7 separate regions of the Homo sapiens genome follow, and regions 1, 3, 4, 5, 6 and 7 are each linked to region 2. The links are contacts of gene promoters, found by promoter capture Hi-C in blood cells and fetal thymus (Javierre and others, 2016). All regions are on one chromosome and are shown on one strand. Each heading gives the region's core, a stretch centred on a gene start or on the middle of the fragment in contact. The rest is flanking DNA. Distances are from core to core; before and after follow the strand shown. Region 1 overlaps NAA16 (N-alpha-acetyltransferase 16, NatA auxiliary subunit). Region 2 holds the start of DGKH (diacylglycerol kinase eta). Region 3 holds the start of KBTBD7 (kelch repeat and BTB domain containing 7). Region 4 has its middle 53 kb from the start of RGCC. Region 5 has its middle 71 kb from the start of NAA16. Region 6 overlaps NAA16 (N-alpha-acetyltransferase 16, NatA auxiliary subunit). Region 7 overlaps MTRF1 (mitochondrial translation release factor 1).

The links. The method cuts DNA at HindIII sites, captures the fragments that hold promoters and counts their contacts. A CHiCAGO score of 5 or more calls a contact.
Region 1: a contact is called between a fragment that was not itself captured here and the fragment with the promoter of DGKH in region 2, in 5 of 17 cell types (fetal thymus, non-activated CD4 T cells, monocytes and 2 more). The highest score is 9.7, in fetal thymus.
Region 3: the fragment with the promoter of KBTBD7 here is called in contact with the fragment with the promoter of DGKH in region 2 in 2 of 17 cell types (monocytes and non-activated CD4 T cells); the score reaches 5.6 in monocytes.
Region 4: a contact is called between a fragment that was not itself captured here and the fragment with the promoter of DGKH in region 2, in 1 of 17 cell types (fetal thymus). The highest score is 7.0, in fetal thymus.
Region 5: a fragment that was not itself captured here is called in contact with the fragment with the promoter of DGKH in region 2 in 4 of 17 cell types (M1 macrophages, M2 macrophages, M0 macrophages and 1 more); the score reaches 9.8 in M1 macrophages.
Region 6: a contact is called between a fragment that was not itself captured here and the fragment with the promoter of DGKH in region 2, in 1 of 17 cell types (fetal thymus). The highest score is 6.2, in fetal thymus.
Region 7: a contact is called between a fragment that was not itself captured here and the fragment with the promoter of DGKH in region 2, in 2 of 17 cell types (naive CD8 T cells and total B cells). The highest score is 6.1, in naive CD8 T cells.

What each region holds. Positions count from the first base shown.
Region 1 is chr13:41,355,628-41,358,625 of GRCh38, reverse strand. NAA16 (N-alpha-acetyltransferase 16, NatA auxiliary subunit) reads right to left here. Exons shown (of 20, transcript NM_024561.5): 11 at 153-322. Among named protein-coding and RNA genes, the nearest start is that of NAA16, 46 kb to the right of the region's middle. The HindIII fragment of the contact is 543 bases long and covers 1,148-1,690 here.
Region 2 is chr13:42,047,280-42,050,336 of GRCh38, reverse strand. DGKH (diacylglycerol kinase eta) reads right to left here and starts at 1,689. Exons shown (of 30, transcript NM_178009.5): 1 at 1,372-1,689. The coding sequence starts at 1,563. RefSeq lists a silencer at 1,383-1,912 and an enhancer at 2,453-2,542. The HindIII fragment of the contact is 8,345 bases long and covers 573-3,057 here.
Region 3 is chr13:41,193,151-41,196,126 of GRCh38, reverse strand. KBTBD7 (kelch repeat and BTB domain containing 7) reads left to right here and starts at 1,558. Exons shown (of 1, transcript NM_032138.7): 1 at 1,558-2,976. The coding sequence starts at 1,870. All of the region lies in intron 3 of KBTBD6-DT (KBTBD6 divergent transcript), which reads right to left. RefSeq lists enhancers at 1,388-1,477, 1,788-2,057, 1,402-2,108, 2,109-2,816. The HindIII fragment of the contact is 3,616 bases long and covers 1-2,432 here.
Region 4 is chr13:41,403,206-41,406,396 of GRCh38, reverse strand. No RefSeq gene overlaps it. Among named protein-coding and RNA genes, the nearest start is that of RGCC, 53 kb to the left of the region's middle. The HindIII fragment of the contact is 3,000 bases long and covers 1-2,911 here.
Region 5 is chr13:41,381,094-41,384,349 of GRCh38, reverse strand. It overlaps the pseudogene TUBBP2. Among named protein-coding and RNA genes, the nearest start is that of NAA16, 71 kb to the right of the region's middle. The HindIII fragment of the contact is 1,785 bases long and covers 852-2,636 here.
Region 6 is chr13:41,315,019-41,318,045 of GRCh38, reverse strand. It overlaps NAA16 (N-alpha-acetyltransferase 16, NatA auxiliary subunit), which reads right to left. Exons shown (of 20, transcript NM_024561.5): 2 at 1,116-1,200. Among named protein-coding and RNA genes, the nearest start is that of NAA16, 5.3 kb to the right of the region's middle. The HindIII fragment of the contact is 2,393 bases long and covers 363-2,755 here.
Region 7 is chr13:41,258,248-41,261,352 of GRCh38, reverse strand. MTRF1 (mitochondrial translation release factor 1) reads left to right here. Exons shown (of 10, transcript NM_004294.4): 2 at 438-860. The coding sequence starts at 446. Among named protein-coding and RNA genes, the nearest start is that of MTRF1, 3.8 kb to the left of the region's middle. The HindIII fragment of the contact is 258 bases long and covers 1,355-1,612 here.

The DNA of each region.
Region 1 (2,998 bases), core at 170-2,669, 690 kb after region 2:
ATTATACAATTAATATAACATGAAACTACACAGGATTATTAGAAAAAGATTATCAGGGTGCCCTAGAACTTGTTTCCACAAAGAAAAAACTCCAAGGATTCTTAAAGTAGCTGAATTCTTCAACTACTCAAAAAACAGGATTCAGATTTTACCTTGTAAATTTTTGCTTTCATATAGAATAATTCTATTAGAGTTGGAGTACTAGCAATTGCAGCATTAATATAATCCAAAGCCAAAGAATACTGTCCAAGTTTATCAAAGTGCTGTGCCAGGAAATACTGAACCCAGAGTAGTGTTGTCGGGGGTTCCTTCTCCCCATTCTCTGCAATCAAACAAATATTAAATTATTATAGAAAGAATGTAAAGCAAATCACATATTTTCTCTCTCCTAATTCATAATGAAATGACTATTGCAATAATAATAAGCAAGAAAGACTCAGCAAAAACTACTAATTTCAAAAGAAAGAGGTATGACTTCATAAAGTTCAAAAAGTGGCAGCCATGTAGAGAAATAAGATTGTACTTTGACAGGCTTCTAACCCCAATCTCACTCCAAAGAAACAATGCTGGGGAAAAGATATACGTCAAACTAATTCTGTGAACTCTCAGCCTGAAAGCAAAAGGGCAGCAAGACCAGGAAAAGTCAAGGAAAAAAACTTGGCAAAGAGATTTCCTAACTACCACTGCAAGATTTCAGCAGAGGCAAGAACTGCCAAACTGCCATGGCTTACCATTTTCCAGGCCTCAATACTAAATCAGGGATACCCAAAGTTGAAGACTATGACCTATAGGAAGAAGATACACCTGACAAAGTAGAAACAACCCTACCATCTGACAAAAACCTAAGTAGAAAAAACACAGCCCAGTCCTCTTAAAAAAGCAGTCACATATATACACTTACCTGAGTTCTATCCTGTTCCCCATCCTGTACCCTCTAACTACAGAGGAGCAGAAAAGAAATATCAAGCTCTCAAAATGGATTTCAGAAGGGAAGACATACTTGTGTAAAAATGAGGAGGAAAGAGTGAATATACCCACACTACATCAAAACAAACAGGTTTCCTAGCATAGCTGATCAAATGACATGCAAACATACTATAGCACACATTAAAACACAAATAATAAAATAAAGGCAATGAGTTAAGCTTCTACTCTGTTCCTCTTATATAAACTATATTTCAAGGGAACCAAGTATTTGATGAAGGAAAGTTCTTTATAAGAAAAATTCCAGCTAACGAATGCAGAAATTATTAGAATCAACAAGGGATCTAGGCAATGATCTTCAATTGCTGAGAGGCCAATGAGGAATTTTTGTCTTGTTCTATCACCAACACTGGAGTGCAGTGGCATGATCATAACTAACTGTAGCCTGGAACTCCTAGGCTCCAGTGATCCTCATGCCTCAGCTTCACAAGTAGCTGGGACTACAGGTGAGAACCACCGAACGTGGCTAATATTTTAATTTTTTGTAGGGACAGGGTCTCACTTTGTTGCCCAGGCTGGCCTCCAAATCCTGGCTTCAAGAGATCTTTCTGCCTCAGCATCCCCAAAAGTGTTGGGATCACAGGTGTGGAGCCACCGTGCCCCCACGCCGTCATGGACCTTTTTAATGAGTATAACAGGCTGACAACATCTGAATCTTTATCAATCTTAACATCAAAAAAGAGAGAAAACCAGAATGTCTCAAGCTTCCTGACATGACACAACAGGAAGCACAAAGCACCACCCGTATTTAAACAGAACCTGAATCTAATCCAGCAAGTAAACCTAACTATAACTTACAAGTATGAATGACAGTGAAATACAGCAAATGATACCATGAGAAAGGCAATCAACCAAATCTAGAATATGGGATATGTAAGACAAATGACCTTTCAACAAATGACTGTTTTTTTGAAAGGGAGGGGAGAGTTATTGTTCTAGATTAAAATAATGAGACATAACCATCAACTTATGGAGATATAACAACCAATTATTTGGTGTGAACCTTAACTGGATCTATACTCAAATAAACCAAACACAAAGACTTCTTTTGGATAATGGGGGAAATGTGAATGCGGACTGGGTATCAGATATTATGTTATGAGGTTTTGTGTGACATGGCACTGCGATGACTTCTTCTGTTTACGTGTTTTAAATAGAGATGCACACTAAGATTGGGTATCAGATATTATGTTATGAGGTTTTGTGTGACATGGCACTGCGATGACTTCTTCTGTTTACGTGTTTTAAATAGAGATGCACACTAAGATATTTACAGATGAAACAGTAAGTCTGGAATGTGCCTTAAAAAAACTCATAGAGGGTGTGGCAGCTCACACCTGTAATCCCAGCACTTTCGGAGGCTGAGACAGGCAGATTGCTAGAGCTCAGGAGTTCAAGATCAGCCTGGACAACATGGCAAAATCCCACCTCTAGAAACCTCCCCCAAACCCCCGCGTGTGCGCGCGTATGCACACACACACACACGCACACAAAATCAGCTAGGCATGGTGGCACACGCCTGTAGTCCTTGCCACTCAGCAGGCTGAGGTGGGAGGATCACTTGAGCCCAGAAGTTCAGCTTGCGCAACACAGTGAGATCCCCTCTCTTAAAAAACATCAGAAAAATACTCAGAGTAATGACATGTAAGAGACACATAAGGAACCCGGAAGTTACTTTGTGCATGACTGAAAACATTCTAGTGTTTTCTAAAGTAACTTGCCTTGATTTATATATGCTCCTACAAATATAGAAACAAAGGACCAAACTAAAGAGGATTAAAAGTAATAAGAGGGTAGAAAAAGCAGAGAATTTAGGGATTCAGGAAAAACAGGTTCCAATATAAACTAACTACATGGTCTTAGGCAAGCCATTCAACCTCTCAAGTATGTTTCCTCATGTTAAAACAAGGTTAAGCCCAGGTGTGGTGGCTCACGCCTGTAATCCCAGCACTTTGGGAGGCTGAGGCGGGTGGATCACGAGGTCAGGTATTCGAGACCAGCCTGGCCAACATGG
Region 2 (3,057 bases), core at 440-2,939:
TGCAGTGGCACAATCTCTGCTCGCCACAACCTCCGCCTCCCGGGTTCAAACGATTCTCCTGCCTCAGCCTCCCGAGGAGCTGGGATCTCAGGTGCACGCCTCAAAGCCCAGCTAATTTTTTTATTTTTAATAGACATGGGGTTTCACCATGTTGGCCAGGCTGGTCTGGAACTCCTGGCCTCAAGTGATCTGCCTGCCTTGGCCTCCCAAAGTGCTGGGATTACAGGCATGAGCCACCGTTACCGGCCTCCACAGGCACTGAATAAAAATTATGTTTCCAAATAGGAGTTCATTGACCTTAGGGAAAATTTTTCATAAAAATAACTGTAGAATGAATTTTTTGCAAATTTATTTTTAAAAACGGTACCCCAAGCCAATGATTTTGTGGTTCCGTTTTCAATATCCTCGTTAAATTTCCCTACTGATAACAGACTCTCTCTGTGAAGATTTTTAAATTACAATGAAAATTAGAATACATAAAAATCCTTTAATATCCATAAGCATTTGCTTTGGTATGTTCATGATCAAATTAAAAATTAACTTTGAGACCTCACAGGTCGACAGCACAAGCTTCATTAACAAGAGTAACACACCATCCTAATGTCCACACAGCACAGAGGTAACTTCTCATTATTAAAAAGAACCATGGACGCATGGTTCTGAACCCTGCCTGCACTTGGCGGGAACCTGCGACACGAAAGCCTGGCCAGCCCTTGGAGCCATGCAGGGTGCGGTTAAGCCGCGAACACCATGTCCCACTTGCCTGCCTCGGGGCTTCTGCCTTCCAGACCGCAGCAGGAGGCAGAGGGGCAGGAAAGGCTGACCGGTGTCACCTTCCACCCACCCTCTGAGTGGGCCTAAGTGGGAAAGCAGCAGGGCTCACTGCAGCGCAGGCTGGTTGGCCAGCACATGCGCACGCTCCCCCGAACGGCAGGGAAGAAAAATTGAAACTCTCCTTTTAAGTTCCCTAAGTAGGAACTCGCGACTGCGCGTCAGCTTTTTCCCACGCTCCCGCCGAGCCGCGGGTTCCCTGCACCCGCCTCTGCCAGTCGAACTCCCTGGGAGCCCAGGCTCGCAGCCTCCCGCGCAGCCGCCGGGAATCCGTCCCGCAGCACCGCGGTCCAGCGCCCCCGGGCCCCGCCCCACCCCTCCCCGCCCCGCCCGCGCCCCAGGCCCCGCCCCGCCTCACCGTCTCACCATCCCCGCCTTCCCCGCCTTCCCCGCCTTCCCCGCCTTCCCCGCCTTCCCCGCCTTCCCCGCCTTCCCCGCCTTCCCCGCCTTCCCGGGATCGCCCGGCGCGTTCCAGCGCCCCCGCGCCCTCTCCACCTCCCGCTTTCCACGCGGCCCTCAGGCCCGCCTCCTCCGCCCTACCTTGGTCCGGATCTGCCCCGAGGTAGACACTTTGCGGATCAGTTTCTGGGGTCCCTCTTGCTCCGCTTCGCTGTCAGACGAATCCTCTCCCGGCCCCGCCGAGGCAGCGGCGGAGGTGACCGCGGCGCCGGCTCCGGCGGCCGCTCCTCCAGCGGCGCCCGGAGGGTGGTGCTGGCCTCCGGCCCCTGCCATCCTCTCCGACTCCTGCGGGGACACAGCACCGCCCGGCGGGGGCGGCGGCGTTGGTCAGCGGGTGGGCTCTGCCCGAGCGGAGCCCGGAACCCCGTGCCCGGCCGCCGCCGCCATCTTCCGTTTCCCTAGCTACCCCCGCGAGGTAAGGGTCGCCCGGGGCAGGCGCCCTCCAGGCAGGGGTCCACCCGGCTCCTCCGCTCGGTTCCCGCCGGAGCGGCGGCCACGGTGGGACGCAGAGGTAACGGACCCCCGCCCGCCTCGGACCCCTGCGCACCCAGCCTCGGATAGGACCAGCGCGGGTAGAGAGGATGGGGTGACAGGGTTTGGAGCAACATCTCTTCCACTCCCTTACGGTCTGGGTCCCTAGGATGGACAGGAGGGTGGGGGAGGCAGGAAACCTCTGCAGCCCACCCCGTAGTGGCGATGCCCGCACACCCCCTCTCACTTCTGGACAGCAGGGGCAACGCCGATCCCTGGGGAAGAATGGGAACCTGGAGCTTCCTCCCAGCACCCTTGGGTGCACCCGCCACCTCCTGAACCCCGAATCTCTCCAGAGACACTTGGGCCTCGCCGCGCGGTTCCAGCTGAATAAAAGTCCCCTCTGCCACCAAGACAGTCGGGGGCTGCCCCTCGTCGGTTTCCCCACCCCCAGCCCCACTCCGAGGACCGTACCTCTCCCGCCTCCGCCAGGGCCGTCGGGTCCCCTCAGCTCTCCTGACGGCGGCGTTCAGTTTCTGGCCCACCCCCACCCCCATCCGGCGCACACGGAAGAGAAGAGCATTTTCCGGGAGGTTCAGCTCCGCTCTGAGAACTTTTCGTTCAGAAAGAGCGATCCCCTTCGGCTAACAGGAAACTGGGAAGGGCGTGGAGAAAGCGCAGAAACAAGAGACTACACGCAGCCCAAGACGACAGAACGCACAAGAAGTGTCTAAGCTGAAGCGCTAACCGAGATTGCCTGGAAGAAAACAATACACTCGAGCCATGCGAACACCAGTACCCGAGACAAAAAGCCTTGGAAGTCCTGGCAGAGCCACTCCCTAGCCCGGACTAGAGCAGGAGGAAGTGGGATCAACAGGCTGTAGCCACCGCGCACAACTCCCCTGCAAGCTGGCTGCGCGGGCACTTGGGAACCGCGGACTGGCAGCGGGTTGTGCACGCTCAACGTCAAAGAAGCCTCACAGGTGTGAGGGGGCTGCGGTGAGGGGGCTGCGAGAGAAGACATTAAAACGACAGATCCCTCTTGTCATCCAAAGAGAACACCAAACTGGTGTTAGCTATATTTTTAAATAGGACAAAAAGTCCCTGCCAGACTGTGGAGTCTCTCCACCTGGAGAAAGCATTCAATCTCTGTTATGTTCATGCCTTTCAGTACCATTCCTTTCGTATTTTTTCAGTTGACATGACCTTTAAGGTTCCTCCAAACTAAGGTTCTAATTTTTTTTTTTAACTTGCAGTCTTACTCCCAACAAGAAATTTGATATATTAGAGCTAACA
Region 3 (2,976 bases), core at 309-2,808, 850 kb after region 2:
TTCAGCTGATAAGAGAAAAACAATTTGAAAGTTATTCTCTTGTAATGTGTTATCCATACATGCATGTAACACTGATGATTTTCTTTATTAGGTTATGGTAACATAACAAACTAGCAGCAGGAGCAGTCATGGTTTTGTAATAAAAGTTATCTGAAAAAGTCTGTTACTGGTGGAGGGTGTCCAGGTTCTTGGCGTTTTGGACAAAAAATTGGACAAAACACATAAACAAAGCAAGGAAACAATGAAACAACAAAAGCAGAGATTTACTGAAAATGAAAGTACACTCCACAGTGGGGAGCGGGCCTGAGCATAGGGGCTCAAGGGCCCTGTTACAGAATTTCTGAAGGTTTAAATACCCTCTAGAGGATTCCACTGGTTACTTGGTGTACACCCTATGTAAATGAAGAGAATGAAGTAAAGTTACAAACTCATTTACTCAGCATACACCCTATGGAGAGGATCTTTCCTGTTATAGCTAAAGTGTGAATCAGCCTTATGTTCCCTGCCTCCAGACCCTATTTTCCTGCCTCAAATCTCTAATACTTGATTTTGATGATTTAACTGTTGATCCCAATGCAAATATAAAAGACTTTGTAAAGCATAGACTATACTATATATTAATTCAAGGAATGTCAGGGCATGTACTGATGTTGAATTCTGAGAATCATGTGCTTTTGTACAGAACAAAGTCTGTTTGTTGAAATATTTTGAGTTAAAATACTCCCTAAAACTCCTTAATAAAGGGAATTACATAATCTGTTAATTGATTTGTGGAACGGCAGTGAAAGAGGCTGTATTAGACGACTTGAAAACACTCATATTTGGAGCTTAACGAAAATACTCCTGCTCTCCAGAGATGAAATGTTAGTGAGAGCAGCAAATAATTTATTTTTATATGCTGGATTTGCGTATTTGAGACCATCTATTAATACTGTTCTTTAGGACCTCAACCTAGTCGTCTAAGACATCCTTATTAAACGAGACCAATAGATATCATTTAATATTGAAAATATTGTTAATGCCCTTCAAAATCTTTCGAAGGAATAAACATTAAAAACTAGAAATTCTTTGTAAAATTTTGCGGTTTAAAATAATACTCGGTTTCAAATTAGTGGGTGCCTCATTTATCATAAATTATAAAAGAGAATCTAACAGTTATTGGCTACATTCTAGGCACGGGGTAACGCTTTACTATTCTTCTAACCAAAAACATACATGTATCTAAGTATCCCATGTAAGGTATCATTGAACCACACAAAACCCTATGAAATACTGGCAGGGGGCGGTGGCTCACGCCTGTAATCCCAGCACATTGAGAGGCCGAGGCAGGAGGATAATTTGAGCCCTCAGGAGTTCAAGACCAGCCTGGGCAACAGTCTCTTCACCATCAAATCCAGGAGAATTAATTTCTACTGTTAGAGCAGTCAACTAAAGGACAGCTCGCGATATTACACAAACTACTACTCCCAACATGCAAAGCGGTTTCTTTCCCTCTGTCCCCGCCCGGCCGTCCGAGAGCCCCAGCAGGCCTCGGGGCGCGAAAGGCAACCTGGGAGCAGTAGTTCTCCCGGGCGCCTAGCGGGATCGCCAGCGCGGCAGTGGGGGCTTCCGCGGCTGCAAGCCAGCGGGTCCTGTGAGGGCGAGCGGAGGCGGAGAAAGGGCGCGGGAGTGAGAGAGGGTGAGTCAGCCACTGTCTATGCAATAAAGGGAGGCCTCACCGCGGGATAGGGCTGAATTCAGAAGTGCGGCCCGTGCCGCAGTCTGTTCCAGGACGCGGCTTGTCTTAGCGTCAGCGAGGGAAGGTTGAGGAGGAGCCAGAGCCTGGTCCTGCAGCCTTTCTCGCCGTCAGCGCCCGTCGCCATCTCCACCATGCAGTCCCGGGAAGACGTCCCGCGCTCTCGCCGCCTCGCCAGTCCCCGTGGTGGGAGGCGGCCCAAGAGGATTTCCAAGCCCTCGGTTTCGGCCTTTTTCACGGGTCCAGAGGAGTTAAAGGACACGGCCCATTCTGCAGCCCTGCTGGCACAGCTCAAGTCCTTCTACGACGCGCGGCTGCTGTGTGATGTGACCATCGAGGTGGTGACGCCTGGCAGCGGGCCTGGCACGGGTCGCCTCTTTTCCTGCAATCGCAACGTGCTAGCAGCTGCGTGTCCCTACTTCAAGAGCATGTTCACAGGTGGCATGTACGAGAGCCAGCAGGCCAGCGTGACCATGCACGATGTGGACGCCGAGTCCTTCGAGGTGTTGGTCGACTACTGCTACACGGGTCGTGTGTCTCTCAGTGAGGCCAATGTGCAGCGCCTGTACGCGGCCTCCGACATGCTACAGCTGGAATATGTGCGGGAAGCCTGTGCCTCCTTCTTAGCCCGACGTCTTGACCTGACCAACTGCACCGCCATCCTCAAGTTTGCAGACGCCTTCGACCATCACAAGCTTCGATCTCAGGCCCAGTCCTACATAGCTCACAACTTCAAGCAGCTCAGCCGAATGGGTTCAATTCGGGAGGAGACTCTAGCAGATCTAACCCTGGCCCAGCTGCTGGCTGTCCTACGCCTGGATAGTCTGGACATAGAGAGTGAGCGGACTGTATGCCATGTAGCTGTGCAGTGGCTGGAGGCTGCTGCCAAAGAGCGGGGTCCCAGTGCTGCAGAAGTCTTCAAGTGCGTGCGCTGGATGCACTTCACTGAAGAAGATCAGGACTACTTAGAAGGGCTGCTGACCAAGCCCATCGTGAAGAAGTACTGCCTGGACGTTATTGAAGGGGCCCTGCAGATGCGCTATGGTGACCTGTTGTACAAGTCTCTGGTGCCAGTGCCAAACAGCAGCAGCAGCAGTAGCAGCAGCAACTCTCTTGTATCTGCAGCAGAAAATCCACCCCAGAGACTGGGTATGTGTGCCAAGGAGATGGTGATCTTCTTTGGACATCCTAGAGATCCCTTTCTCTGCTATGACCCTTACTCGGGGGACATTTACACAATG
Region 4 (3,191 bases), core at 162-2,661, 640 kb after region 2:
CCTTCCTGTGGACCTTCTAATCATTTGTGCTGTCTTTTCTATTGGGTACATATATTTTCAATGTTTTCTTTAGGCATAGATTGGTGCATGTATTTTAAACAGAGTTGTATTTTATATACTGTTTATAACCTGTAACCATATGATCAGTTTCCATGTCTTTAAATATTATTTCTCATCATTTTAATAGGTATGTGGATAAACTGCAATTTAATCAGCTCCCCACTTTTTAACATTTAGATTTTTACTTTTTCACTATCGTAGATACACTCTGATAAATATTCTAAGAGCTATATTTTTAGACTCATCTATGATTGTTTCCTTAGAATAAATTTATAGATATTAAATTGCTGGGTCAGAGAAATATATGAAATTCTAAGTCTTTGAGTGTGTATTTTCACATTACCTACAGAAAGATTATACCAAATTATGTTATAGCTGTCTGCAGAAAACATAAGGCAATCTTACCATGTTGATGAATTTTGTGTGGACGCTTTTGTACTGATCAATCTTTAGAAATATTAATATTTTCAGTAAAATATTAACATTATTTCCTGAATATAAATAAAATGCTGAGCTCACATTTTACCAATCTGATACAAAAAGAAGTGAATACTCTCTGAAATGTCACCTTTATTAAACCAGTGCTCTGTAAGGGCACCTTACAATGTGGTACCTGGTGTTTGTTTTTTTAACTTTTTTAATTGATACATAATATTTGCACATATTTATGGGGAGACTTGTTTCATAAAAGCTCATTCAGTTTATTCGGAGATCAGTGTGTGCAGTGACCTGGGGGCATTCCTATCCCCTTGTTGCTCTGATTTGCCTGAGCAATGCCGACTAAGCACTTTGTTTCAACCACAAGGGTCTGGGCTCTGCATAGCTATACCATGCCTTTTAGATTAAATCTGATTTCTTCCTCCAAGTGAATGCTTTACTCTTATAGCCAACAGGGCACAGAGTTCAGAGAAAGAAGATCATGTTCTATAGTGTATTAACACCTTAAAAGCATGTACCCATCTGTTTCCAGTTTGAAAGAAATCAAAGTTAGGCTTATAGAAAATCAGGCACTGTGAATCAATCAATTAATTATTGTTGAGTGTTGACAATGTGCAATAACAAAATTCTTGTTATTACATAAACAAAATCAGAGAGTAAACTTAAAATACATTGGTAAATATTCTACTTTCTTTTAGGTTTAGTTACTTTTTCTGGAATATTGGATGAATGCTGGTTGAATTTTTTTTCCTAGATGCTTATTTTCCCTTAACCTGGAATAAGAAGACCATAAAATATCCTGTTTTTCCTCAAAAGATGCTTTTTAAAATGATGAAATTAAGTGTCTCATCATATAAGTATTGGCCTTATGTGTTTATTCTGTGAAATACCAATTTATGTATTTTGTGTATTTTCCTGTTGAGTTGTGTTCTCTTCTTATTGATTTATAGGAGTTCTTAGAATTATTTTGATATAGAATTTTTGTTAAATGTGATACATCCTCTCTGTTTGTAGCTTATCTTTTGACCTTATTTAACACGTTGTTGATGAACACAAGTTTTTAATTGTTATGTAATGAAATTCATCACACTTCCATTCTATAGTGGGCTTTTTTTGTGTCCAATGTTTAAGAAAGCCTTCCCTACCCTCAAGATCTAAAGATATTCACCACTTTTTCCTTCTGAAAGTTTTAATTGCTTTTGATATTTGAATGGTTAATCCATCCAGAGTTGATTTGCATGTCTGATGTAAGATAGAAATCTAATTTACTCTTCATATGGATAGTAAGTTTCTCCAGTGCCATTTATTGAAGTCCTCATAAATAACTCTGGAAATGCAAATCAAGACCATAAAAAGACACCAATTTACATCCATTTGATTGGCAAAAATTAAGTCTGGCAACACCAAATACTAAAGTGGATAGATGAATAAGATAGCTTAAACATTGCTGGCAAGAGTATAAATTGCTACAACCGCTTTGGAAAACAGTCTGGCATTATCTTGTGAAGTTGACATTCACACACCCTACTACTAACCCAGCATTTCATTCTTTGGTAGAAACCAAGGAAGACGCCGGCATGTGTGCACAAGGAGAGAGAGCCCCTTATGAGAATGTTCACTACAGTGATGTTGATTACAGCAACACATGGTAAAGCCTACACTCTGGAGTCAAGAAGGCCAGATTAATAAATTATGGCATATTCACACTGTGGAATACTATGTAGCAGTGAAGATGAATGAATCACAGCTAACCACAACAATATGAATGACACTTCGTAATAAAAAAAAAAATAAGTGGGGAAAAAGTCCCAGAAGATTATATATGGCATGATATCTGCAATGGACTAAATTTTTGTGCTTCCCCCGCTGCACCAAGAATTCATATGTTGAAACCCTAATCCCAATGTGGGCCTGTGGGAGATAATCAGGTCATGAAGGTAGAGCCCTCTTGGATGGGATTAGTGCCCTTATAAGAAGAGGCCTGAGAGCCAGATAGTGCTCCTTTCACCTTTTGAGGATACAACAGGAAGATGGCAATCTGCAACTCAGAAGAGGGTCCTCCCCAGGGCCCCACCAGGCTGGCACTCTGATCTTGGGCTTCCAGCCTCCAGAACTGTAAGAAATAAATTTCTATTGTTTATAAGCCACTCAGTCTACAGTACTTTGTTATATCAGCCCACACTGACTTTAAAAAAATCTTTTTTATAAAAGTCAAAAGCAATTAAAATTAATCATTATGTTATTGACATGCCTATATGTGTGCTAGAAATATATTTTAAATCAGCAAGGAATAAAACCACAAAACTCAGAATACACTATGTCAGGTGGGCAGAGGTGGAAGGAGCCCAGAACTTGGGGCTCCCAAGCAAGGGCTGTGACGTGCTATAACACTCTCTTTGGGGCTCTGCAAGCTTTCAGGCACCACTGCTTTCCACCTTGCCCAGACACTAGTCTGGATACAAGCAGAAGCCGCTTGTAGTATGTCTGGTCCAGCCGTAGCCTCGCACAAAGGCACTGCCTGTGCCAGTGCCTGGAGCTGCCCACCCTGCTGCAGCTGGCACACCTGGCTGTGCACAGTGGCCAGACCCTGTGATTGCTCATTCACACACTCCCTGCCTCTCTGTGCCTGGCTTGACTTTGGCAGGAGTGGGATCCAGGCTGGTAGCACAAGCCAAGTGCAGCCTGACGGGCCG
Region 5 (3,256 bases), core at 495-2,994, 670 kb after region 2:
AGATAATGGCCACCATCCTAAGCCCAAAGTAGAAGATGGTAGAAGGCAGTGGGTAGAAGTCACTATATAAGGAAGGGGATGGGATTTTCCATTCTAAAAGTTTTGGAGAGGGAAATCCAGGCTATTAAAGTCACTAATTTCTAAGTATGTCCATTTCCCATCTCAGCTTCAAGAGAGGTGTCAGCAGTATTATCTCCACTTTCAATCTCCCTCTAAGCTCTACTCTTTGGAGGTGTCTGTCCCACTCTGTCAAGTGGAATCCTTTCCTTTCCAACTCTACCTCCCTCACTCGAGCTCCTTTCCCCTGATCAGAGAAAGGGATCAAGGAGTGGGGGAAAGAGTCCAGCCTTGGTCCCTAAGCCTCCAGAAATGTCCTCTTAATCCCCACTTTTTCTTACCCCCTAAAAAGAAGGAACATCCCTGACTGTGGAATGGTGTATACTGCCACATCAGTGTTTGAGTCAATCCTCAGAGGAGAGGGGAACCCTCCTCCATCTTTTTCACAACATCTCATTTCTTCCTTTTGCTGTTGCTTCCCCCCCCCCACACACTTGGTTTTGTTCTATCCTACATTTGAGATTTCTATTTTGTGTTGAACTTGCTGCTTTTTTTCATACTGAAAAGATGACATCGCCCCAAGAGCCAAAAATAAATGGGAATTGAAAAAAAAAAAAAAGAGAACCTCTTGTCGAGGAAACAAGACTTTAAACACACACAAGGCCAGGAAAATGAGTAAGACACGGCATGATTACTGAGCATCTGACAGAGAGGAAGGAACACTCAATTCAAAATTAGAAGGAGTGGGTTTGGATCCTGCTTTGTACTAAGAAACTGTGGCCCTGAGAGAAGCTTACATCCTATCAGCTGACTGTCATGGAAAATGGGGATGATAATATGACCTCTTTCACAGGGCAGTGGTGAAGGCAAATCAGAGATCAGAGAAAATACTTAGTGACTGTGAGTGTTCATCAATGACATTTATGAATATTTATTTTGCGCTGAGCTCTGTGATTTATACTCAAGACAGACATGGTTGGAGACCTTACAGAACTTACAATCAAGCTAAATAAGTGGTCATCACAGGGCACCCAAATAGCAGGCAACTGCTAGCCCACATATGTCCTTGCAAGATTTGAAAACAAACTGCAAAACGATGCCCTTTCTGAACATGCTTAAAATGCTCATGGAAAGAAACCAGTAGAGAGGCAGAGACAAATGGTACAGGATGTGATCAAGCCAAGTAAGTACCCTAAGACCTGAGGGAAAGAAATTCAGAACACAGGGAAAATTACCCTTTTGGGGAAGAAAAATGTGACAAGATGAAAGGAGGAAAAAATTCTGCAATCAGAAATAAGTTTATAGATTTAGTACAGGGAAGATTAAGAATTTGTATCTGATGGCTTCTATTTTTTGTTTAAATGGGAAGTGAGGTTATAATTTCCTTATCAATTACCCAGTCTGTGGTATTCCATTACAGCAACAGAAAACAGACTAAAACAGATGGAGATGAAAAGTATTGATACCAGGGAGATCAAGAAACTGAGAGGCCAGAGTGTTGAGTGGGTGCACCAAATAGATGCTGAAACCACCTGGAATTTCAGCACGATTGGAGAGAAGGGAAAGTCTGTGAGTCAGAGAAGTGTATAAATGACAGCAACAAAGAGATGTCAAGAGTACAGCCCAATAGCATTATCCTCAAAGGAGCATGGATTTGTTTGTACAATGTTGGAAGAGTGATGGGCTAGAAATGGTGGAGAGTGAAATGCTCTGAATGCTCTTTCCAGGGAGATGGTGAGAGAATAAACAGTCTCCACTTGAAAGGGCTGCATAATGGATAGAGATCCGTTACGATTTTCAGTTAAAATTAAAAGATAAGCGGAAATGGTGAAGGCAGAGAAAGAAGATGTATGGAACTGTGAAAACGTAGATTTAGTACAAGGAAGATTAAGAATTTGCATCTGGCAAAGCCATGCAGTTGAATATTTTTAGAGGGTAAATTGCAAAGAACACAAGGAAAGAGTATAGAGAGGGGCTGACCTAAGGAAGAGAAAACAACAGATGGGGATGAGAGGATGGGAGAGGAAAGAGAACCAGAGAGCGCTTACGCCTTGAGTGGAACTCAGAGATGGTCACAGGTCTGCCAGAAGTATGAGTCCCTACAGATCCCTGGTGGATTAGGAGTAGGGGGTGGAGGATAAGGGATAGGGGAGTAGTCCTGAATAAGCTACAGGGTAGGTTGATCATATGGCCGTAGGTTCACAGGCTCCCAGAGGCTGGGATTGAGCCGAAGCCAATATATGATCCCGTTCAGGGGCTATGAAGCCACTTTAGCTACTTTAAGATAAAGAACTTTCACTTATCACAATGGCTATCCTAAAGATGTAAAGTCACAAAGTGCTGCTAAAATATTAACAGACACCTGTGTTCTAGAACTAACATCTACACATTCTGGGAAAGAAGAAAGGGCTAGTCGGCTTTTCCTACCATCAGGGATTAAAGTAATTTTCTTTAACAAGCTGTTAACCAAATCTATTAATGAGACTATCCTCAATAGAAAAACTCAGATCTCATGACTATCCTCTCAGAGAACAGGAGCCAGGAGGCACTGAAATCCGTTGTAATTCTTATACTAAGCTTCTTAGTTACTTAAATTTACTGTCCAAATGTTTTCATTCTACTGCCTATTAAGGAACTTAAAAAGACACACTGCAGGCCGGGCGTGGTGGCTCATGCCTGTAAGCCCAGCACTTTGGGAGGCCCAGGAGGGAGGATCATGAGGTCAGGAGATCGAGACCATCCTGGCTAACACGGTGAAACCCCATCTCTGCTAAAAAATACAAAAAAATTAGCCAGGCGTGGTGGTGGGTGCCTGTAGTCCCAGCTACTCGGGAGGCTGAGGCAGGAGAATGGCGTGAACCTTGGAGGTGGAGCTTGCAGTGAGCTGAGATCGTGCCACTGCACTCCAGCCTGGGCGACAGAGCAAGACTCCATCACAGAAAAAAAAGACACACTGCGATAGTAGATATGGAAACAACCCAAGTGTGCATCAACAGATAAATGAAGAATATGTGGCATATATATCAATGGAATATCAGCCTTAAAAGAGTGAAATCCTGCCATTTATGCCAACATGGATGAATATGGAGGACATTATTCTAAGTGAAATAAGCCAGTCACAGGACAAATTCTACATAATTCCACTTACATGATGTTATCTGTAATAGTCAAGCTCATAGAAGCAGAGAATACAATGGTT
Region 6 (3,027 bases), core at 310-2,809, 730 kb after region 2:
ATCACTTTATTCAATATTGGAACAGACTTCATTTTTGATAGCAAGTTTATTCCAACAAATTATACTTAGGCTAATTAACATCAGTTCACATTTCAACAGCACAACACTGGATGATGGTAGTGGCAACAAAAAACATGTAAGGAAGTTAATAAAAGATGGTTTAGGATGAAATAATTCTCTGAATTATCCACAAGAAGGGAATTACACAAGAAGAATGATTTTCAAACTCTATGGTATTCAGAACATGGTGATCCTGTGGCCCAAACCCCGCTCCAACACCTTTTATCTGTTTTACATATTGAACTTTCCCACAGGCACCATTTGGATAAAGCTTCCACAGCTAAAAAGCTTGAAAACAAGCTTTAAAATTAATTCTATGAAATGAAGATTTCTTTCCATTTCCTTCAAAGAATCTTTTAAATGTTGTTGGAAAAGTGAGCAAGGTCAGCCTATTTTCCCAATAAGATGATCTCAACCATTATCCAAGTCTGATACTGAGTAATCTCAACCAGCTTTGCTATGCTACAGGATCATTATTTTCATGTCTATCCTGATCCACCCTTCTAACACTGGCTGTTACTGAAAAAGGACACAACCAGAAAATACAAACTTTATTAACACCAGTGTTAGAAAACAACTCAAAATATACAATCTAATGGTAAATTAGTAATATCATATGTAAACGTCAGCACATACTAAAAAAAAACAAAACAAAACACATCTACCAAAGAATAAAGTGCAGGTGACCATATCTTCATACTTCTATATTGCAAATTTTGTCCTAATTTTACACACAGGAAACCAAGGTATAAACTTTAAATTCTATTCAAAGTAATAAAGGAAATCAGGTCCATAAAAATACTGATACATACTTTCTCCAATTTTTTCCCCAATAGATAAACGAACCATCCTAATCTTATCCTTAAGTATACATACTTAAGGATAATACAGGTAATCTAGAAGACTCATATAAAGCATTAAAAAAATGCTGAACATTTATGCACTCTAATAGAGAACTGCAAGGCCCTGGAATCGGGGAAATACTCTTCTTTCACTGTTAATGCCTGGTTTTAGAATTTGATTTCCCTAAAGCAATCTCTCACATGAGACAATACCTCCATGTTCAGCAAATTTTGGGTTCGACAGAATCATCTTGCAAAACTTGAGGCCATTTTTGTACTGCTTCTGTTCATAACATTTCTGTAAAGAAATATGAACAAAAGTTATTTTATCAAATGAATACATAATGGAGCAACTTCTCACAGCATCATATATTCTAAACTCAAGATCCAAAATTAGGTCTAAAATGTGATAGAAAGGATATCACTTACAAACATGCAGTGTACTTTTGTTACCTATTCTTGTCAAATTGTTCTAAAATCTACATATTTTCATTTTTATAAAAGACCATGAAAAAAGACATTTAAAAAACAGGAAATGTGGCTCAGCAAGGTGGCTCACGCTTGTAATTCCAGCACTTTGGGAGGCAAAGGTGGGCGGATCGCTTGAGCTCAGGAGTTCGAGACCAACCTGGCCAACATGGTGAAACCGTCTCTACTAAAAATACAAAAATTAGCTGGGTGTGGTGGTGCGTGCCTGTAATCCCAGCTACTCAGGAGGCTTAGGCAGGAGAATCGCTTGAACGCAGGAGGCAGAGGTTGCAGTGAGCAGAGATCACACCACTGCACTCCAGCCTGGGAAACAGAGCGAGACTCTGTCTCAAAAAAAAAAAAAAAAAAATTACAAAAATTAGCCAGACGTGGTGGCGCATGCCTGTAATCCCAGCTACTTGGGTGGCTGAGGCAGGAGAATCACCTGAACCCAGGAGCTGGAAGCTGCAGTGAGCCGAGATCATGCCACTGCACTCCAGCCTGGGCGACTGAATGAGACCCTGTCTCAAAACAAACAAACAGAAAAAAATGACAATTCACCAATCAATACTGCCACAGAATTTTTTATTTTGTTTCCCTTTCCTAGTACACAGAATTTTTTAATTCAAAATAATTCCAATGCTTTGGGAGGCCAAGGCGAGAGGACTGCTTGAGCCCAGAAGTTCAAGACCAGCCTGGGGAATAAAGCAAGATCTCATCTCTACAAAAAAATTAAAAATTCCTCAGGCGTGGTGGTGCACATCTGTGGTCCTAACTGCTTGGGAGGCTGAGGTGGGAGGATCACTTGAGCCCACGAGGCTGAGGCTGCAGTAAGGCATGACTGTGCCACTGCACTCAGCCTGGGCAGTAGAGCAAGACACCATCTCAAAAAAAAAATTTAAGCAAAAACATATGTGGCAACAGAAAAATACCAGAAACTGCACTAAAAGCCTTTGCTACCGCAAGAATGAAACCAAAGTGCATGGGTGTGTGCACGCATACACACACACACACAAATACTACCACTTATTGAGCAGCTATGATATGTCTGTAAAAAATTTGTAATCTCTTACTTAATACCAATTCTTTAATGTAGGTGTCATTACTTCCACTTCAGAGATGTGGAAACTGAAACTCCAGAGGTTCAAAAACTTGTTTATAAGCTGCTCAGCTTAGCTGCAAACTCTGATCTTACTCCAAAGACCATCATTAGTCCAATGCAAGGATAAGCAACATCTTTATTTCCGAATGCCACCAGCCAGGGTACACAATTAACATCTCTCCCTGGCAGCCACTGATGCGAAGAACACCCCATTGCTTTCCACTCTTCCCTGGCTTACATTGTTCAGTCACACTGGGTGTTAAATTACTCAACATGCCAAGCTTATCCCCACCTCAGGCCTCCTACACTTGTGTTCCTTCTGCCTGAATTGCTTTCCTAGATCTTCCCATGGATGGTTCCTCATTATCCAAGTCTCACATGTCCCCTACTTGCCCACTTTATCAAATACTCCCATCCTCCTTCCTTCCCCAACATATTCTCTACCATGTTACTCTATTTTCCACACAGTGCTATCATTTCCTGAAATCTTATTTATGCTATTATTTAGTGTCTGTCTTCCCCACCATCATATAATGGATCCTTAGAACAATGATC
Region 7 (3,105 bases), core at 234-2,733, 790 kb after region 2:
TGAATTTTTTTTTTTTTTGAGACGAAGTCTTGGTATTGTCCCCCTTGCTGGAGTGCAATGGCATGATCTCGGCTCACTGCAACCTCTGCCTCCTGGGTTCAGGCAATTCTCCTGCCTCAGACTCCTGAGTAGCTGGGATTACAGGCGCCTGCCACCACGCCCGGATAATTTTTGTATTTTTAGTAGAGACAGTGTTTCACTATGTTGGCTGGGCTGGTCTCGAACTCCTGCCCTCAGGTGATCCGCCTGCCTCAGCCTCCCAAAGTGCTGGGATTACTGGCGTGAGCCACTGCTGCCAGCCGGCAGTTGAATTTTAAGACTGTGGAGCTGGCTGAGGCAGTAGATGAAACAAGATTTCTTGATGTTCCTTCCAGGTTTATTATGCATGTATCTTTAGAGATGATTTTTTTTTAAAGACTGTGTTTATTGTATTTCAGATGCTGAGATGAATCGTCACCTGTGTGTTTGGCTTTTTAGACATCCATCTCTTAATGGTTACCTCCAGTGTCACATCCAGCTCCATTCTCATCAATTTAGACAGATACATCTTGATACAAGGCTGCAAGTTTTTAGACAAAACAGGAATTGCATTCTTCATCTGTTAAGTAAGAATTGGTCCAGGAGATATTGCCATCAAGACACCAAGATGCTCTGGAAGCATAAAGCACTACAGAAATATATGGAGAACCTGAGTAAGGAGTACCAAACACTTGAGCAATGTCTGCAGCATATCCCTGTGAATGAGGAAAACCGAAGGTCCTTGAACAGAAGGCATGCTGAGTTGGCACCTCTTGCAGCCATTTACCAAGAAATTCAGGAGACTGAACAAGCAATTGAAGAATTAGAATCAATGTGTAAAAGTAGGTAAAAGATACTTATGTGTCCTGCATAAGGGCTATGAAAAAAAAAACCACACACTTATATGCGTGTGTGTAAGTACAGATTTGATTTTCTAAGTTAAAGCTTTATTGAACTTAGTCTTTGTTTTTTTTTTCCCACAGAAGCAGGTTCTCACTTGTTGCCCAGGCAGGAGTGCAGTGACTCAATCGTAGCTCACTGTAACCTGTAAGTCCTGGCCCCCCACTTCAGCATCCTGAGTAGCTAGGACTATTGTGCCAGGGCTTTCCAAAGCGATATGATTATAGCCACCGAGCCACTGAGGCTGGCCTGAACTCAGTCTTTTAAAAAAACCTACAAGTAATAAGCTCAACACTTGGAAAGAACAGGACTCTGTACCCAGAGTATTTGACACACTTTAGCTACTAAAGATCAATGTACTAAGTAAACAGGCTCCTCGTGGTACTTCCCGTGGTCTCAAGGTCTGGGAGACAAAATGTTGGTCTTTTCAGAAGCTTTATTTTATTGAGCAGACCTTTATTGAACACTGTACCTACATACTAGGGCTACACATACAGTTCCTACCCCATCAGTGGGCTTCTATGGTCCAGTGAGAGAAACTTATTTAAGTATTGTTTATAATGTGAGACCTGCTCTACTAGAGGGAGGCACAGTTTCATGGGAGCAAAGAGGAGAGGGCACTCAAACCAGCCTGGATTGATTGGGTAAATCTTCCTGGAGGGGACTGCGCATTAGTGGAACCAGGAAGGAAGCTTTTATTTTTTATTTTTATGTTTTTTTTTTTTTTTTTTTTGAGACGGAGTCTCGCTCTGTCGCCCAGGCTGGAGTGCAGTGGCGGGATCTCGGCTCACTGCAAGCTCCGCCTCCCGGGTTCACGCCATTCTCCTGCCTCAGCCTCCCAAGTAGCTGGGACTACAGGCCCCTGCCACCATGCCCAGCTAATTTTTTTTGTATTTCAGTAGAGACGGGGTTTCACCATGTTGGCCAGGCTGGTCTCAAACTCCTGATCTCAAGTGATCCACCCACCTTGGCCTCCCAATGTGCTGGGATTACAGGCATGAGCCACCATGCCCAGCCAGTACTTTATTTCTTTTCATTACTGAATTATATTCCATTGTATGGATATACCACATTTTATTTATCCATTCATCAGTTGATGAACATTGAGTTGTTTCCACTTTTTGGTTATTATAAATAACGATACTGTGAACTTTTGTGTACAAGTTGTTTTGTGGACATAGATTGCTGGTTCATGTGGTAACTCTATGTTTAACCTTTTGAGGAAGTGCTAGACTGTTTTCCAAAGTGACTATAACGATTTTACAGCTCTACACACAGTGTATGAGGGTTCATATTTCTCCACGTACTTGCCAACACTTATTATCCGCCCTTTCAATTATTGCCATCCTATGAATGTGAAGTGGTGTGTTATTGTGGTTTTGATTTGCATTTTCCTGAAGATTAATGATGTTGAGCATCTTTTCTGGTGCTTATTTGGCCATTTGTGTATCATCTTGGGAGAAATCACTGTTCAGATCCTTTGCCAGTTTTTAAATTTAATTGTCTTTTCATTATTGAGTTGTGAGTGGTCTTTATCTTCTAGGTAAAAGTCCATGATCAGATATATGATTTGCAAAAATTTCCCATTCTGTGGTTTTCTCTTCACTTTTTTGATACTGTCTTTTGAAGCATGATATTTTTAAATTTTGATGATGTCCAATTTATCTTTTTTTCTCTTGTTGCTTGAGTTTTGGGAGTCGTATCTAAGAAAATTGCCTAATCTAAGGGCACAAAGGTTTACATCTGTGTTTTCTTACAAGACTGACGTATTTTTTATTTTTATCCCATGCATTTAGGTCTTTGATCTATTTTAGTTATTTTTGTATATGGTGTATTTATTTTTTATGTTTTTTTTTTTTGTTTTTTTTTTTAAGAGATGGTCCCTCACTCAAACTCCGGGGCTCAAACAATCCTCCTGCCTCAGCCTTCTGAGTAGCTGGGACTACCGGCTATTTTTTATCTTAGTTTTTTATTTTAGTATTTCTCAATACTGCTATTGCCTCTACATTTTTTCTCTTATGAAAATTTTCGAAAATTTTTATACAGAAGTTGAGAGAAAAGTTTAATGAACTAACCTATGATTCAACATTTATCCAGATTTGGCTATTAACTTTTAGTTTCTAGATTTTCTTCTGTGCTTCATTTTGTTTCATTTAGCCTTAGCAGTATTATGTGATACACAGGCCA